Regions from separate parts of the Homo sapiens genome. Here regions 1, 2 and 4 are each linked to region 3. Evidence: promoter capture Hi-C in 16 types of primary human blood cells and fetal thymus (Javierre and others, 2016). All regions are on one chromosome and are shown on one strand. Each heading gives the region's core, a stretch centred on a gene start or on the middle of the fragment in contact. The rest is flanking DNA. Distances are from core to core; before and after follow the strand shown. Region 1 overlaps EEFSEC (eukaryotic elongation factor, selenocysteine-tRNA specific). Region 2 overlaps RUVBL1 (RuvB like AAA ATPase 1). Region 3 holds the start of DNAJB8 (DnaJ heat shock protein family (Hsp40) member B8). Region 4 overlaps EEFSEC (eukaryotic elongation factor, selenocysteine-tRNA specific).

Region 1 (2,700 bases), core at 106-2,605, 300 kb before region 3:
GGGCTTGCCCTTGAGAACAAAACATATCAAAAGTTAAATCAAAGAATATTTTTGTAGTCGTGCTAGGAATAGAAAATAATGCAAAGACTCTGGCTTCTTGAGGCAAATATTTTGCTGGAAGGTTATAATCAAAGTCAGAAGGAAATCATAGCCACAGCTTTCGGTAAAGCTGTAATCATTTAAAATTAATTGCTTTTAAACTTTTCACTGAGCATCCCCTTTGTTTTCTATCAGCATGTCTCTTGGGTTTTTCTTCGGAATCATTCCATCCAGGTTGGAATAGGATTCGGGCAGGCATCCCAGGAAACAACCCATAAATTAAGCCCTAAGACATATTCCCCTTTCTGTCATTCTTTTGTTTGATGGAGCCTCAACCAGGCTGGGGATGAGATACTCTTACCTTAAGAGCTCAATTCTGTGTCCCCTTTACCAGTAAAGGCTTTGATGTGCGGAAAATGATGGTATCTATAGCTCTGGTACTCTGGGTATCTTGGAGGCCCAGTCTTGGTGGGGGTAGAGCCTGGCACTTCTGAGGCAGCCTCATGGTAGGATAGGGAGCTGGAGTGAGTCCTCGTTCTTCTAGGCTCTGGACTTGGTTGCACAGCATGCATCCCTCTTGGTGTGAACACTTCACTCCAATGGCTGGTTTCCATGTCTCCTCTTTCCATTAGCCTGGAAGCTTGATGGGGTAGAGACAATATCTGAATCATCTCTGTAGGTCTAGGGCCAACCCAGAGCCTGGCATACAGCAGATAATAATTTTAAAAACATTTTTAATTTTATATAGTGTTTATATAATTTTTTAAAATAATTTTATGGTATGTAAATTACATACCATAAAATTCACCCATTTCACTGAGTGTACACTAAGTGAACACTCAGTGGTTTTCACTGTACTCATACAGTTGTGTAGCTGTCATCACACAATCTCAGTTTAGACCATTTTCGTCACCCCATAAAGAAACCACATCCCTACCAGGAGTCATTCCCCATTCGCCCCTCTCCCAGGCCTAGGCAACCACGAATCTACTTAATGTCTCTGGATTGACCGGTCCTGGACATTTCATATAAGTAGATCACACAATATGTGGCCTTTTTGTCTGGCGACTTTTGCTTGGCCTCCTATGTTGCCCAGGCTGGTCTTGAACTCCTGAAGTTAAGCAGTCCTCTTGCCTCAGCCTCCCAAAGCGAGCATATGCTTTGGGAACCAGTATTGCATTTTTTTGTGAAAAAAAAAAAAAACAAAACTATTTCTATTGATTTCTACTTGTGGTAAAGTATAAATAATGTACAATTTGCCATCTTAGCCATCTTAAGTGTACAGTGTGTGGCATGTGCTCCTCAGGCTGCCTCCTCTTTCTGTGATGTGCCTGGCCCATGGAGACATTTGGGCTGGTAGGCCTTGTTTTAAGGGCTTTCGGCAGCTTGTGTGGTGGGAAAGGACCACATGGAGCTGCATTTGGTGTTTTTCTCCACTCACTCAGAGATTCTACACATACACGTTGCATGGCTTTGTTTTGGACGTGAGGGCAGATACACAGTCGTGCCTGTGTTCAAGGGGCTCACAGTCCCGAGTAGGGAGGAGGAAGCCAGGCAGTGCCAGCAGCCAGTTTAAGATGTGGAGTGGTAAGGGCTTTGATCGAGATGGGCATAGAAATGTGAGTACCTGCCTGGGGTGGCAGATAGGGAATCCTGCTGGAGGAGACACACGGCTGGGCCTGGAAGGATGACCTGTGGATTTCCAGGCTGAGAGATCCAGGAAACAGCCTTAGCAGAGTCCAGAGGCATGGAAGCAGCCCTGGCTAAAGAAGGGGAGTGGTCAGGGTGGCTGGCACTTGCACACAGGGGGGTGTGAAAGGAGGTGCGGCCAGGTTGGCTGGGTCACAGGCCAGTCCAACTGGCTTGTGGGAATTGTGAAGGATGGTTGAGATATTACATTTTAGAAGATGGGAGGCATTCCAGCTAGAGGACTCAGAGTAAACAAGGACCTAGAGACAAAGGGAGGGCTGGAGTGTGACTGGGGTATCAGGCCAAGCTTCCAGAGGGTAGCCCGGACCAGATCTCAGGAGCCGGGAGAGTCTCTTCTGGGAGGAAGGCTGGTAGGTTTTAAGCTTCTGGTGGCTTTTAGTGAGCTCCCTGAGTCTGAGGAGAGGACTGTGACAAGTGGTCCTAGGGCCTGTCATTCCTCTCATCATTCCAGCTTCAGCTTTCTGACCCAGCTGGATGAAGGAGAAGAGGAAGGACACCTCAGGCAGGCAAGGCGGATGCCATCAGCAGGGAAAGTGGGGCTCTGGGGTTGCAGACATGGCAGTGCTGAGCAGTGGCCAAGGGATAGTTCTGCCTCTTGGAGGGAGATGAAAGAATGGACTTTTGGAGAACGCTTGCTGTCTGCTGGACACTGTTCTAGACCCGTGGCTCTTGCTGCATCCTCCCAGCCAGTCTCCTAGGGAGGCGTTTCCATCTACATTGCTCAGCTACTAGAAATGAGGCTCTGAGCAGTAGGCAGTTTGCTGCAGGGCGCACAAGTAGCCAGTGCCAGGCTCTGTTTCAGAGGCCCTGGCTTTGCCCAGAAGCTGCTCTCAGACCTTAGCACATGCCTGCTTCCATAGAAAATTGTGGCTCCTGAGGAACACTTTATATATAAATCAAATTGTCAAAAATAGAGATTTCTGCTTCTATTCTCCCCTCGATTATTTGAGT
Region 2 (2,700 bases), core at 106-2,605, 380 kb before region 3:
AGGAGGAAAAAAATAACTAAAATCATACTCAAAAATAATCATCTAGATATTTGCCAAACATTCATATATAAACAAATTATATAGTATAATATACAGTATATACTATATTATAGTATATACTAATTATACTCTATAGTATAATATATAGTATATACTAATTATGCCCTATAGTATAATATATAGTGTATACTAATTATACTCTATAGTATAATTTTACAAATTATACTAAGTATGCAAGTTTTTTTTGTTTTTTTTCATGTTGCTTCAGTCTCCTTGTTTTGTTTTGTTTTTGAGACTGGGTCTTGTTCTGTGGCCCAGGCTGGAGTGCAGTGGCATGATTCTAGCTCACTGCAGCCCTGGACTCCTGGGCTCAAGGGCTCCTCCCACCTCAGCCTCCCGAGTAGCTTGGAGTACAGGCGTGAGCTACTGCACCTGGCTTGCAACAGTCTTAATAATTATGTTTAATATTTACTTAACAATCCATTAAATATTTTACTTAACCCAAATTGTTGAGCATTTAGGTAGTTTCCAATTGTTGCTATTATTTTTATTGATATTTTGATAATTTGATGCATACAGCCATAAGCATTTCCTTAGCAACTGTTGTAGTGCTTGACAGAACCCTGAATAGCTACTTGAATGAATAACTATCCTAATTTATAGAGCTACACATGAGTTATCTAATCTCACAGGATCATAGCACTACCGAGTATTCTCATTCTGAAATATTTTGCTATTTCAACAGTTTAGAAAAAGAGGGAAAGGTAACACCTTAAGTTTGCATTTCTTTGATTACTAATGAGGCATTTGAATGTATTCCCTTATATATATTATTTTACTTCTTTTTGAGAAGGGTCCAATCCCATCTTTTGCCTATTTTTCTCTTGAACCCTTAGCCAAGCCATAGGAATAACACCCCAGGGAGGAACCTTGCCAACCCACCAGACCCTGAGGTGCCCTGCGCAGCCACTGGTGGCACATGGGGCCAGCCTTCAGCTAGTGTTTGGAGGGCCCAAGTGCTGTAGGCTTCTGCCTTGGCCTCTGGGGGTCCTAACAGCAGAAAGGCTACACTTCTGGCATTCTTAAACTTGTGCAGGATTGTACAGTCTATGGTTATAAGTAATCAATATAACAAAGAATTAGTCATGTCAACTGGATTTGTTAGTATCTGAATATTTGGTTTCAAAAACAAGTAAGCATGCTAAAAATTTAACTTTAGTAAAAATAAAATCTACCTGTTTAAATTCTATCCAGTTGAGGTATAAAAATGCATATTTATGACTGCAAAAATAAAATGCAAACAAAATACATGCTAGCACAGGATGAACCCTGAAAACATGCAAAGTGAAATAAGTCACCGACAAAAGAACAAATATTTTCTGGTTTCTTTATAGGAAATATCTATAGTAGGCAAATTCATAGAGACAGAAATTAGCCAGGCCTGGTGGTGTATGCCTGTAATCCCAGCTACTCCGGAAGCTAAGGCATGAGAATCGCTTGAGCCCAGGAGGAAGAGGTTGCAGTGAGCCAAGACTATGCCACTGCACTCCAGCCTGGGTGACAGAGTGAGACCCTATCTCAAAAAAAAAAAAAAAAAAAAAAAAAAAAAAACACAGAAATAAATGAGACGTTACCAGGATCTAAGGGGAGGAAGGGTTGGGACTTCATGCTTAATGGTTACAGAGTTTCTGTTTTTGAGGTGATGAAAAAGTTTTGGAAATAGTGGTGATGGTTTTAGAAATAGTGGCGATGGTCATGCCACCCTGTGAATGTCATTAATGCCAATGAATTGTATGCTTAAAAATGGTTAAAATGGCAAATTTTATGTTACACACATTTTACCACAATAAAAACAATTCAAAAAGAGAATAAAATGCTACATTAATGAATTGTTAAATCTAATGTAAAAAAATTAAAATCAGCCGGGCGCAGTGGCTCACGCCTGTAATCCCAGCACTTTGGGAGGCCAAGGCGGGCAGATCACGAGGTCAGGAGATTGAGACCACGGTGAAACCCCGTCTCTACTAAAAATACAAAAAATTAGCCGGGCGTGGTGGCGGGCGCCTGTAGTCCCAGCTACTTGGGAGGCTGAGGCAGGAGAATGGCGTGAACCCGGGAGGCGGAGCTTGCAGTGTACCGAGATCGTGTCACTGCACTCCAGCCTGGGTGACAGAGTGAGACTCCGTCTCAAAACAAAAAAAAATTAAAATCTTCAAAGTAAATATGGAAACAAACTAATAGGAAATACAAGTATTAAGTTAACTTTAGAGAAAACTTATCTTTTTCCAGCAACGAATGTCTTTTTAAAATTAAGAAGAATTATAAAGATGAAATTCTATCATGATTCAAATCTCAGTATTTGGTGTGCCTGGAACCTTCACATTAAGCAAAATAACCTTTTAAAACTACATTTAATTTTTAGTTTTTTAATTCTATTTAGGCCATAAGTGTTTTTTAAGTCTTATTTGAGAATTCTTTTGGTAATTTTGAGGAAATCCTAAGATCTCAATTTTGCCACATTAAAATATCCCAAGGACAAAAATATCCAAAATTCTACACCACCCATGATAAATCACAACAAACATAAAAAGTTTAAAGAAGAAAAGGTTAGAGAAAAATAAAGTACTCCCAAATCAAACTTCACAAGAACAGAATTTATAGAAATGCATTAATAACATTTCTTATAGTTTTTAAAGTCTA
Region 3 (2,700 bases), core at 9-2,508:
GAGGGGGAGAGTAATTATGGGTGATGGTGGAGTTGATCATGATGATGGTGATGCTGGTGGTGACAGCAGCAAGGCTTGTGCTTGAGAGTAATTGATGATGGTAGTGGTGGTGGTGATGGTCATGCCAGAGGAGATGGTAACAGCGAGCCTTTGTTGTGGTTGGCAGTGATGGTGCAGGTATGATGAGGAGGTGATGGGAATGGCTCCTAGTGAGCCATTGGTGTGGTTGGCAGTGGTGACAGTAATGGTGATGATGAAGGTGAAGGTGGTGGAGGTAGCAGAGGTTGTATCTTGTTCGGCTATACCACAGTGACAGCTTCCACCTCTCAGTGGCTCACGACAAACATCTAGTTCCCCCCACTTCACTCACTGGTGCCTACAGGCAGCTGCCAGGGCCCCACCTCCCATAGCTTCTCACTGTGGGTCCCAGGCTGGAGAATCAGCTCTGACCTGCACACCCCTCTCTCATGACAGTGCCACTCAGAGACAGCAGGAACTTGGGCTGCCTCTGAAAGCTTCTGTTGGGCCATGATGTGTGGCAGTCTTGCTGCATCCCATGGTCAAGGCCAGTATCCATGGGGCAAAGAATGTTTCCTTCAGGAAGGTTCTGCAAATCTCAGGGCAATAGGAAGAGAGGCCTGAGATTCCCATGGGGAAGAGGGAGTGAGCAGTTCTCCAACATATGCCAGATGCTCAAGATGGGACTGACAGCGGGGCTGGTAACGATGGCTCTGCTGGGAGCAGTGTTGGTGCTGCTGGTGCCGGGGACACCCGTGGTGGTGATGGGATAGGAGGCAGGAATTGTGCTATTAATGGAGGATGGTGGTGAGGGTGGTTGTGGAAGAGGCAATGGTAGAGGGGGGTGCCGAGGGGTGAGAAGGACACAGTGGTGGACATGCTGGTGTGAGTGCCGATGGCGATGGTGATGGCACTGAGGTGTGGGGCTCTGTATTTTCTGTTGCTAACTTGGCATTACACCAACCTCTTCCATGGTCTCCTTGCATCCTGGAGAAATCTGAGGGATTTTCCAGAATCCCATCACCGGTATAATTCCAGACTAGAGCCTGCCAATACAAGGGATTTGGAGAGTGGAAAAGAGAGGCCGTTGCAGGCAGGTGACAATGGTGAGCTTTGCAACAGCTCGGGGCAATCTTCTGCGAAGACCCTGCTTCTGAGCCACAGGCTGAGGCATGGATGGGGAGCTTCCTGGAATACCGTGAGCTCCTCAGCAGCTCCCAGGCAAGCTCTAGAGAGCCGCTCACCTGGGAGCTGCAGGTGAGCATCTCGATTCCTTGTTCCCTGACCGCTGGTCCCAGACTGTTCAGGGTGCAGCGTGTAGTAAATGTCCTCCTCCTTGGTACACATTTGAGGGCTGTGTACTGTGAGGGTGATGGCGGCTCAGATGAAGGTGGTGGTTGTGATGGAGTTGGGTGTGAGGATAGCAGAGAGAAAGCAGATGGTGACATCAGGAAGGCATTGGAGGGGCAGTGGTGGTGGCAGTGATGATGGTGGCAGTCTAATTAGAGGCAGTGGTGGGTCTGGCTGAGGCAGACCCGGTGGTGGTGATGGTGGTGGTAGTAGAGGGGGCAATGACGGTGGTGATGGCAAAGGCGGTGTGAGTGGTTGATACTGGTGGCAGAGCTGATAAGGTGATGTCACAGATGGGATGGTGGGTGGAGATGGAGGTGGAGGAAGTGTGGTGACAGTGATGTGGTGGTGACACAATGCTGACACGGGTGGAGAGCACCGTGGTGACGGTGACAGAGATGATAGTGATAGTGGGGCTGGTGGCAGTGGTAGAGGAGATGGGGATGGGACGCTGGGGTGTTGATGGTGATGGTGACACTGCTGAGGGTGTTGGTGGCCTGACATTGTAAAGGTGAAGCCTGAAGTTTCCATGACGATGGAATCAGGACAGTGGAGGAGGGGTGGTGAAAACAATGTTAAGAGACAAAGGACCTAGTATGATGAGGCATCCAAGAATCCTGTGGCCGCCTCCCCGTCCTGGCCCTCCCTGCCTTGTTGGAGACCCTGGCTCTGGTCTGCGTTGTACTCCCAGGGGAAATTTCTTCCAGCCACTGCCCTGCTCCAACCCTTGTTCCTGGGATGGGTCTGTGGGAGTCAGCCAGGATGGAGACAGGGCTGGAGACCCCCTCACTGCCGCCCATTCAGGGCTGTCTTAGGGCACACAGAACAGACCACTCGGTAGGACTTACGGGAACAGGTGTGTCACCTGGGAGCAGGTCCCACACCTCACCATCAAGGGCATCCTGAGATGGAGGCCCCTGTGGGGAGCTCCCCATGAAGGGAGCTGTGGACCGTGGAGCCGGGCAGTGTGCAGAGGAGTTTCCCTTCTGCAAAGGGTTCAGGCTAGTCTCCTTCCACGCCAGTTTTTGGGGAGCCAGTGGGGAGCATCAGGGGCTCTGAGGCCTCCATAGGGCCTGCTGGAGGGACAGGGACACACAGGCATGAGCGCACACTTAGGCCCCACACGCTCCACCGTCAATTCTGTCAGGCCACCTCCCCTCTTCAAGCCTCTCTGTCCTCATTCACCAGTGGGTGCTTTTGGGGATTTGCCCTCTCTGGGGAGCCAGCCTAGGCTTCCTGGCCTCAGATGTCCCATGTCCCTCATCTCAGGCCCACCCTAAAGCCAACCCCGAGCCATGGCCAGGGAGAGAAGGACCTTCAGCGACCAAGCGA
Region 4 (2,700 bases), core at 44-2,543, 260 kb before region 3:
TCTTTTGCCTATTTTTTATTAGATTTTAAAAAATTATTTTGTTGTTGAGTTATAGGAGTTCTTTAACCTACTTATCAGTCCTTTGTCAGATATATGTGTCGTGAATACCTTCTGACAATTTATGGCTTACCTATTTGTTTTCTTAATGGTGTCTTTTGATAACCAAAAGTTTTGATGAAGTCTAATTTATCACTTTTTTCTGTTGTAGTTACTGCTTTCTATGTTCTAAGTAACTTTGCTTACCACCAAGTTATGAAGACATTCTACTCAGTTTCCTTCTAAAAAGCTTAATGACATTAGCGTTTGCATTTAGTCCTGTAATCTATCTTGAATTAGTTTTTGTATGTGGTGTGAGATGGGGGTCAAAGTAGATTTTTTTCCGTATGGCTATTCATTTATTCCAGTGCATCATTTCTTGAAAAGTTTTTTAGATTGTTTTGTTGCCTTTGTGAAAAATCACATAACCATTTAAGTGTAGGTCTATTTCTGGACTCTATTGTACTTTGATTTGTTTGTCTGTCTTCACACCAATATCGCACTGTCTTTATTAGTAGCTTTATAAAGTAAGTTTTGAAGTCAAGTAGTGTAAGTCCTCCAACTTTGTTCTTTTCCAGTATTGCTTTGAATATTCTTGATCCTTTGTAGTTCCATATAAATTTTAGAAGCAGCTTTTCAATTTCTACAAAAAAAATAAATCCTGGGATTATGATTGGGATTACATTGAATCTATACTATAGCTCAATCGAGGGAAAACTGACTCTTAACAATATTGAGTTTTCCAATCTATGAACTTAGCACATCTCTTCACTTATGTATTTTTAAGTTTTTAGTATAGAGGTCTTGTACATATGTTGTTAAATTTATTTCTAAGTATTTTATGTATTTTGATGCTATCATAAATGATATTTTTAATTTGTTGCTAATATATTAACATAATTAGTTTATGTATATTCATCTTGTATCTTGCAACCTTGCTAAACCTTCTTATTAGTCCTAGTGGTTGTTTTATAGACTCCTTAGGATTTCCTACATAAAAAATCATGTCAGCTAAGAATAAAGATAGTTTTACTTCTTTGTTTCTACTCTTTATACCTTTTTCTAACCTTTATGTTCTTTTTCTTAACTTATTACACTGGCTACAACTTCCAGTAAAATGTTGAGTAGAAGTGGTGAGAGTGGACATCCTTGCCTCGTTCTGATCATGGTGACAAATCATTTCATATTTCTCTAGTAAGTATGGTGTTAGCTGTGGGTTTTTCCATACACATCCTTTACTGTGTTGAGGAAATTCCTCCTGTTCCTAGTGTGGTGAATGGTTTTATCAGGAGTGGTTGTTAAATTTTGTCAAGTGCTTTTTCTGCATCCACTGAAATGATTTTATAGTTTTTCTTCTTCATTCCGTTAGTGTGGGGAATTATACTGATTGATTTTTTTGAATATTAAACATAAAAAGCTATAAATTTCCCTCTAAACATTACCTCAGCCTCACCCAATATATTTTTTAACATGGTTTTAACATGTTCATGTAGATTTTTATTTTCCAGGAATGGATTATTTGGCCCATGGATCAATCAGTTGGTAGAATACAGATTGTAGATAGTATAAATGAATGGTTACACCCAAATGTTGGCAATTTGAGACAATTTGTGAAACAGCAGGAATGGCAAAGTCTTTGTTTCATCAGCAACTTCCTAATGGAATTTGTTGACGGAAGTGATTTGATTTTTATCCATTTAGTGATGCTTATATCATGGCAAAGTCCAAGCCATTCACATTTCCCTTCAGGTGTGTTCTAATTCATGATCTTAAATCATGATAGGCTATTTCCTTAAAGTGATGTCATTGTTTCCACCTGGGCAGAGGAAGATGATGAGTGTTGGCGATGGCAGAGGAAGGGGATGGACACAAGTCCAGGAATAAGGAAGGCAAATGTCAGCCAGCACTGTCAGCCACCTCCCTTGTGTGCGGGCACTGGGCTAGATCACCTGCATGTGTTAGGTGTGAGTCCACAGCACTGAGGAGATGGAGGTCTGTAGGAAGTAAATCATCTGCTGCAGGTGACATGAGTAGGGGCAGAAACGAGGCTGGAGCCAGGTCTGCTAGCCCTCAAAGCTGGTGGACTTTTCCCAGGCAGTATCTACCTTTTTTTATCATGCAACATGAGGATATCTACATTTTGGAGTGAGTGTGAGCTTTGAGGATAAAGTTGTAACAGAAGTTTCCAGGATAATCCATTAATTGATACCACCTATCTTATTGATTTAATAATTGAGCCACTGTTATACTTGGCCAGTTGAATATCAAGCTTGGCATTCCATTAGATAGGAAACCTGGTTTTGGAATAAATCAATAATCCCAGGAATTCTTAACAGGAAACATGGTTACCAAATGTAAATGAAACACTAGAGTTATTTATAGGAGTATTGTATTAGATAGTTCTCTAAGTGGGCTGCAAAGCAGCTCTGTGAAGTGAGTCCTATTTTCTCAGTGACTTGCATATTCTAAGATTAAGTGATGTATTCCCAAGGAACAAGTCCTTTGTAAACAGTGGTTAACTTTTGTAAGGAAGGAATATAGAAGATTCTGGACAGTGTCACGGAATAAAACTATTAAGAGCACAGATTCTAGCACCATACTACTTGAATCCTGGCTCCATCACTTGCTTGTTTTGGGATCTTAAGCTGGTGACTTACCCACTTT

What was found. The method cuts DNA at HindIII sites, captures the fragments that hold promoters and counts their contacts. A CHiCAGO score of 5 or more calls a contact.
Region 1: a contact is called between a fragment that was not itself captured here and the fragment with the promoter of DNAJB8 in region 3, in 3 of 17 cell types (endothelial precursors, megakaryocytes and erythroblasts). The highest score is 7.9, in endothelial precursors.
Region 2: a fragment that was not itself captured here is called in contact with the fragment with the promoter of DNAJB8 in region 3 in 1 of 17 cell types (fetal thymus); the score reaches 5.3 in fetal thymus.
Region 4: a contact is called between a fragment that was not itself captured here and the fragment with the promoter of DNAJB8 in region 3, in 1 of 17 cell types (endothelial precursors). The highest score is 6.7, in endothelial precursors.

Annotation. Positions count from the first base shown.
Region 1 is chr3:128,162,711-128,165,410 of GRCh38, forward strand. All of the region lies in intron 1 of EEFSEC (eukaryotic elongation factor, selenocysteine-tRNA specific), which reads left to right. Among named protein-coding and RNA genes, the nearest start is that of EEFSEC, 11 kb to the left of the region's middle. The HindIII fragment of the contact is 1,356 bases long and covers 678-2,033 here.
Region 2 is chr3:128,088,330-128,091,029 of GRCh38, forward strand. All of the region lies in intron 8 of RUVBL1 (RuvB like AAA ATPase 1), which reads right to left. Among named protein-coding and RNA genes, the nearest start is that of RUVBL1-AS1, 14 kb to the left of the region's middle. The HindIII fragment of the contact is 4,504 bases long and covers 1-2,700 here.
Region 3 is chr3:128,465,632-128,468,331 of GRCh38, forward strand. DNAJB8 (DnaJ heat shock protein family (Hsp40) member B8) reads right to left here and starts at 1,259. Exons shown (of 3, transcript NM_153330.6): 1 at 983-1,259. All of the region lies in intron 2 of DNAJB8-AS1 (DNAJB8 antisense RNA 1), which reads left to right. The HindIII fragment of the contact is 7,883 bases long and covers 514-2,700 here.
Region 4 is chr3:128,201,535-128,204,234 of GRCh38, forward strand. All of the region lies in intron 1 of EEFSEC (eukaryotic elongation factor, selenocysteine-tRNA specific), which reads left to right. Among named protein-coding and RNA genes, the nearest start is that of EEFSEC, 49 kb to the left of the region's middle. The HindIII fragment of the contact is 2,019 bases long and covers 285-2,303 here.